Regions from separate parts of the Homo sapiens genome. Here region 2 is linked to region 1. The links are contacts of gene promoters, found by promoter capture Hi-C in human tissues and cell types (Jung and others, 2019). All regions are on one chromosome and are shown on one strand. Each heading gives the region's core, a stretch centred on a gene start or on the middle of the fragment in contact. The rest is flanking DNA. Distances are from core to core; before and after follow the strand shown.

What was found. Contacts are between HindIII fragments. The study calls those that stand out against the background at their distance.
Region 2: a fragment that was not itself captured here is called in contact with the fragment with the promoter of SLC45A4 in region 1 in 2 of the 25 tissues and cell types used here (IMR-90 fibroblasts and aorta).

What each region holds. Positions count from the first base shown.
Region 1 is chr8:141,306,703-141,309,861 of GRCh38, forward strand. It overlaps SLC45A4 (solute carrier family 45 member 4), which reads right to left and starts at 1,586. Exons shown (of 9, transcript NM_001286646.2): 1 at 1,394-1,586. RefSeq lists silencers at 1,462-1,561, 1,582-1,821. The HindIII fragment of the contact is 10,784 bases long and covers 1-3,159 here.
Region 2 is chr8:140,981,842-140,985,000 of GRCh38, forward strand. The region is part of intron 1 of PTK2 (protein tyrosine kinase 2); the gene reads right to left. Among named protein-coding and RNA genes, the nearest start is that of PTK2, 18 kb to the right of the region's middle. The HindIII fragment of the contact is 8,425 bases long and covers 1-3,159 here.

The sequences.
Region 1 (3,159 bases), core at 336-2,835:
CTACCTGTCTGCCAATGACACAGGAAGGATGAGACCGTCTGGGGAATGGAAGCGCAGGGCGCTCTCAGTAATGCTGGGCAGATGCAGTGGCTTTTCCCCAGCAGAAATGGGCTTCGATTCAGAATCTACCAGCCCACAAGAATCATCTGACCCCACAACAATTAGTTCAATCACTCATCTGGTAAACCCTCCTCGCTCCGGGTCATAGACTGGAAAAGACAGCCCCCAAAACAGTAATAAAAACGACAAGCCCTGTTTTGCTGGAGTCAGCTGAGGTATCAGATGGGGGTCAGTGGCTAGGTCTGTGAACCTGAAGCCACACTCCATCAGTGACCCGCACTGGAGAGACACAAACACCTCAGGCTCCTTAGGAGGTCAAGCGGCCCTTCCCAGCCCTCCCTAGCCCCCGCCTTCTAGAATCATTCTGAATAGCTAACCAGGAGGCTGGGCCCCGTGTGGATCCGCCTCCGCTGGAAAAGCCGCTGCTGGAAGTGCTCCAATCCAGAGCAGGATACCTGGGGGAGGAACGGGTTAAGCGCAAAGGGGAAAGGGGCAGCGGGTGCTGAGACGCAGAAGGTGCGGGGACTTCTACAGAGCAGGGAATCTGGGCCCGGATGAACTGATGCCCTGGCCTCTTTCCTCCAGGGACAAGGTCGGTCTCAGGAAATCAAGGTATCTTCAAAGGGACACAAGGGAGCGCAGTGCCGATGAGACCGGGGCAGAGCCACAGTCTGGCGGTGCAGGCTGGGGGTCCGAGGCGGGGGACACTGGCTAGCAGTGCTGCCAGGGTCGTGTGTGCACTGGGCAGAGGGAAAGGAGGGGAAGAAGGGAAGGGGAAGAAGGGGAAGAAGGGAGTGTGTTCGGTTGGGAGGACCGGTCCAGACAGAGGGGAGAGGGGGCCACTTCGCGAGTGGTGTATCGCTGGTTGAATTCTCATAAGTTAGAGATAGCAGGCAGGGGTTAGAAGGACAAGACAGGGTCAGGACCAGGAGTTAGAGGCGCCAGGCTCCTCTCTGGGTAGAGAAACCGAGGAACTGGGGGCGGGGAGGACTGATGGGTGCGAAAGCGGGCCGGGTCCAAATGAAGGCGCGCGCCCCGGGGTGGGGGCCGGGGTGGGGGGAATGAGGGAGGCTGCAGGGCTGGGGACCAGGGCAGGTGCAATCCGGAAAGAGGAGGCGGGAAGGAATTGGGGGGCCCTGAGGAGCCAGCGCAAGCCGGGTGGGGGCACGTCCCCTCCCCCGGAGAAGGTGCGGGGCTGGGGCTGCGGCGCGGACCCGACCTGGAGGCCGAGGCTGTGCGGGAGGTGGGGGTGGGGAGGCTGCAGGTGCCCGGCGCCCAGGTGCGAGGTGCAGGGGGCGGCGGGGCAGGCGGCTGCGGGCGGCAGGCCACTCACCTGTCTCCTCCGGCCGGGGCCGCGGGGGCGGCGGGGCGGCCGGGCCGGGCCGGGCAGGGGCTACGGGGGCGCGGAGCCCCGGGCGCACCGGGGTCGGGAGGCGGCTGCGGGTCCGGGCGGGGGCTGCTCCCTCGGCCGGCCGGCCGGGCGGTCAGTCAGCGACGCGGGCGCGGAGAGAGCGCTGCGAGGCTGCGGCCGGCGCGCGGAGACAACGCCGCTTTATCGGGTCGGAAACAGCCGCTCCGCGCCGCTTCCGCTGACGCAGCGCCGGCCCCTGCGCCTCATGACTATGCAGCACCCGCCGCCGCGGGACGGGGATTCGGGGGGCGGGGTCTGCGCCGCGCGCGCTCATTGGCCTCCGCTGCCGCCCACCCCGCCCCCGAACGGCCGCCCCGCCCCCGCCGCGCCCCTGCCCCGCCCCCGCGCGCACCGTGGCTCCCGCCCCCGTCTCGCCATGGCCCCGCCCCCAGCCATAATCCAGCCCCGCCCCCGCCCTCCTCCCGCTACGCCCCCGGCCCCGGCCCCGGCCCCGGCCCCTCCGCACCGAGCGTCCGCCCTCTCTCCCCTAAAGCGCTGGCCCGCAATCCACCCCATCCCTCTCTGCAGCCGCAGGAGGTGGCCCCCGCCTGTCCCCACCTTCTCTCCCCGCTCCTCTCGCCACTCTGTCGCAGAGGGGTCCGGCTAGCCACGAGGCCCCGGCCCCCGGCAGCCCAGCCCCTTGGCAAGCACCCTCCCGCCCCCTCCGCCCCTGCCCGTGGCGCGGCGACATGGGCCCCATCCAGGTGCTGCAGCCCCTCCTCCGCTGCAGGAGAAAACTCTCCTGTTTTCCCCTCCCTGCCACCCTCCGAAGACCTCCTACCTGGTCCCGGACCACGCCCCCGTCCCCAACTCCCCCAACGCCCCGCGCTCTGCGGGTCCCCTCTCCAACCTGGAGAGCGGGGCAGGACGAAGACCCGACCCGGAGCTTCCTGGAGGCTGGGCCTCCCTCTCAGGCTTGGCCCTGGCCAGGGACACTGATCCGTCTCTCCCCACGTGTAGAAGGGCCACAATCCCTAGGGCAGGACTGCTGGGAAACCCCATCAAGACAAGGTCTGGGGAGGCGGCTTTAACAGACAGATGTGATGGGCTGAGGCCAACCCTGTTAACGTCGCAGCCCTGCACCCTTGCCAGGGTTTAAGTTGCTTTGGAGGAATTACTTCATTTCTCAGAACCTTGGCGTCCTCATCTGTAAAATAGAAATCGTAAGATCCATCTCACCTGTTGCTAAAGGAATTTAGAAGTGAAGTGCAGAGCAGAGCCTCCAAGAGCATCGGAAATGGGAAAATCTGACCATATCAAGTGTTGACAAGGAAATGGAGCAACTGGAACTGCCAGACACTGTTGGTGGACATGCAAAGTGGTACAACTTTCAAAATCTTTTTGAAAGGCCTTGATTACCCAGCAATTCTGCTCCTAGATACACACCTAACATTGTGTTTCTGTTGATAGCAGCAGTGTTTATAATTGCCCCAAACTGGAAACTACTGAAATGCTCATCAGCCGTTAAATGGATACATAAATTGTGATATATTCACACAGTGGAATGACAGCAATGACAGTGAATAATCAACTACACACAACAACATGGATGACTCTCACAAATGATGTTGAGGAAAAGAAGCCAGAGGATAAAAAGCCATATTTGTTTCCATGTGGATAAAGTGGTAGAAGGTGTATATGGGGGTAGCAGTCAGGATAGTGGTTACCCTTGGAGGGAGGGGTGCCAG
Region 2 (3,159 bases), core at 413-2,912, 320 kb before region 1:
CTGACCTAGGGCATAACTAGGGACTTAACCAAGGCTGACTTGGGTGTCCTTCCTCCAGGTTCTCAGAGCTCAGAGCATTCTTGAAGAAGGTAGAGATTATCTCTACCTTATATTTTACACATATTCTTTTGTATTTCTTCAGTTTAATCATTTTTTGAAAAAGATTAGCATATTTCTTTCATAAATATTGCTCTATTAAAGCTCCACGCTTCACCAACTCAATAAAAAAAAAAAAAAAAAAATGACTCAGTTAAAAACAGACATGTACTGCTATCAGGAACATTAAACCAATACAGCAAAGCATAGCAAGCTACAGTTTATTTTGATTCAAGTACAGTTTTAAGAAAAGAACCTTCCAACTAAAGGCTCCAAGTCTGTGGAGAGTCCCCACCGCCTTGCTTAGCTCACTGGATCATTAAGATACACATTGGATCATTAAGATAGATACACACTGCATCATTAAGATAGATACGGGGGCTGGGTGCGGAGGCTCCCGCCTGTAATCCCAACACTTTGGGAGGCTGAGGCGGGCAGATCACAAGGTCAGGAGTTCGAGACCAGCCTGACCAACATGGTGAAACCCCATCTCTACTAAAAATACAGAAATTAGCCAGACATGGTGGCGGGTGCCTGTAATCCCAGCTACTCAGGAGACTGAGGCAGGAGAATCGCTTGAACCCGGGAGGCGGAGGTTGCAGTGAGCCGAGATAGCACCACTGTACTCCAGCCTGGGCAACTGAGCAAGACTCAATCTCCAAAAAAAAAGAAAGAAAGAAAGACACAGGACAGTCAGCTGCATCACCCACTCACAGAAGAACCTTAGAAAAGCAGCAGAGCTATATTCAATTCCTTCCCTATCTTTTTTAAAGAAATGCATCATGAATTATGTCACATTTTAGCAGGAGTTGTCCAATGTTAGCGTACGTTTTCAGAAGCAAGTTACTTCACAACTTTTAAGTATGAACCAGTACCTTTAAAGAGTTAACAATACTTATTAAATAATAACCATGGCTGAAAGTGGTAATGAATAAACAGGGAATTCATTACAACATTGTTTCTGTATATGTTTGAAAACTTCTACAAGGTTTTCACATTGAAGCTTTGTATTTTTAGTTATTAAATACGCATTTAACAGAAAAGTCACAGAATTCTCACTTGAAAGAATTCTATCTTTCAAAATCCTTAGTACAAAATATAGTTTTCCATCATCCTTACTAGTGGCAACTAAAAAAAGAAACAAACAGATGCTTATTTTAAAATCTAGGCCGGGTGTGGTGGCTCACACCTGCAATCCCAGCACTTTGGGAGGCCAAGGCAGGCGGATCTTCTGAGGTCAGGAGTTTGAGACCAGCCTGGCCAACAGAGCAAAACCCTGTCTCTACTAAAAATGCAAAAATTAGCCACACATGGTGACAGGTGCCTGTAATCCCAGCTACTCGGAAGGCTGAGGCAGGAGAATTGCTTGAACCCAGGAGGTGAAGGTTGCAGTGAGCCAAGATCATGCACTTCAGCCTGGGCAACAGAGTAAGACTCCATCTCAAAAAAAAAAAAAAAAAAAAAATCTTTGTTAAGGCTTTCATCAATGATCTGAGAAACTGAAACGATATTCACCTAAAGGAATACTATGTAGTTGTATTATCTTAAAGTTTTCCAAGTCCTTGTTGAAGCCCCAATACAAACACCTACTTCTTTAATGTGTAAGAAAAGCATTATAACTGGTAAACTTGTCCATGTGCCTGCCAGTCTTTATGAAGACGGATGGTGTATTCCTCCAGTACAAGAAGGCTGGTTCATCACTGTCCTAGAGAGAGGGAAGTGAAGGAAGGAAGGAAGGAAGAAGGAAGGAAGGAAAGGAGGAAGGAGGGAAGGAGGGAGGGAGAGAAGAAGGGAGGGAGGGAGGGAGGTGCAATTTTACAAACTGAGCAAAGATGCAGGGAAGACTCAGCACTTTGAAAACTGGCAAACTTTTAATGTAAACATTTACTTTTAATAACTGTTACCTTTCATAAAGCGTTTAATAAGACCAAGCACTGCCGGGCACGGTGGCTCAGGCCTGTAATCCCAACACTTTGGGAGGCCAAGGTGGGTGGATCACCTGAAGTCAGGAGTTCAAGACCAGCCTGGCCAAGACGGTAAAACCCCGTCTCTACTAAAAATACAAATATCAGCCGGGTGTGGTGGCATGTGCCTGTAATCCCAGCTATTCGGGAGGCTGAGGCAGGGCAATTGCTTGAACCTGGGAGGCAGAGGTTGCAGTCAGCCGAGATCATGCCACTCCACTCCAGCCTGGCAGCCTGGGTGACACAGCAAGACTCTGTCTCAAAAAAAAACAAAAAAAAAAGACTAAGCATTACATAATCATGTAGTACAATCACATGCCACACAAGGAAATAGAGATTAGAAAACTTAACAAACAAGCCCAAGATCATAGAGCCAGGATTCTGACCCCAACTCCATGCCCTTAACTACCGCAATCAACAGTGGTTATTCAACTTTCAAACTAAGACTCAGTGCCACCTTGCAACCCACACTTTGAAAACCAATGCCTAGCTACTCCAAGTATGGTCCACAGACCACCAGCCCTGGCATCACCTGGGAACTTAGGAAAAATGCAAGTCTGAGCCCTTCCCAGACAGACTGAATTGGAACTTAAAATATAACGAGATCCCTGGGTGGCATGTATGCACTTAAACGCTGAGAAGCCTTCATATAGTGCCTGCACACACTCTATTTTGAGGTAGTTTCTCCAATTCAAATACATATCCTAGAACGGTTAAAGGGAGCTTTCATCTCTTCTGCTTGCTGTGATCCCAAACCAAAGGTAAACATGTGCTGGCAAGCTACCCCAGGTGGCGATGAAAAGTGGCCCTAACCTTTCCTCCACACCCATCCTCAGTCCCACTCCTTCATCTTTACCGCCCCTCTTGTACAGAGCCTAAACCACAGCTCAACTTACTGACTTATCTGAACCCTTCCTCCTCCTAGAGTAATAGACAATAAGGGAATGACTCCACTCAACATCCCCCGAGTTCCTTGAAATGTGCCCAGGAACTACCAAGCATGAATCTAGTGCACGGTTAAATTGGCAGAAAGGGACAGCTGGGACTACTTCAGGCATGTCCTCTGACCCTAACAACTGTGGACACATAATCAAAAGAT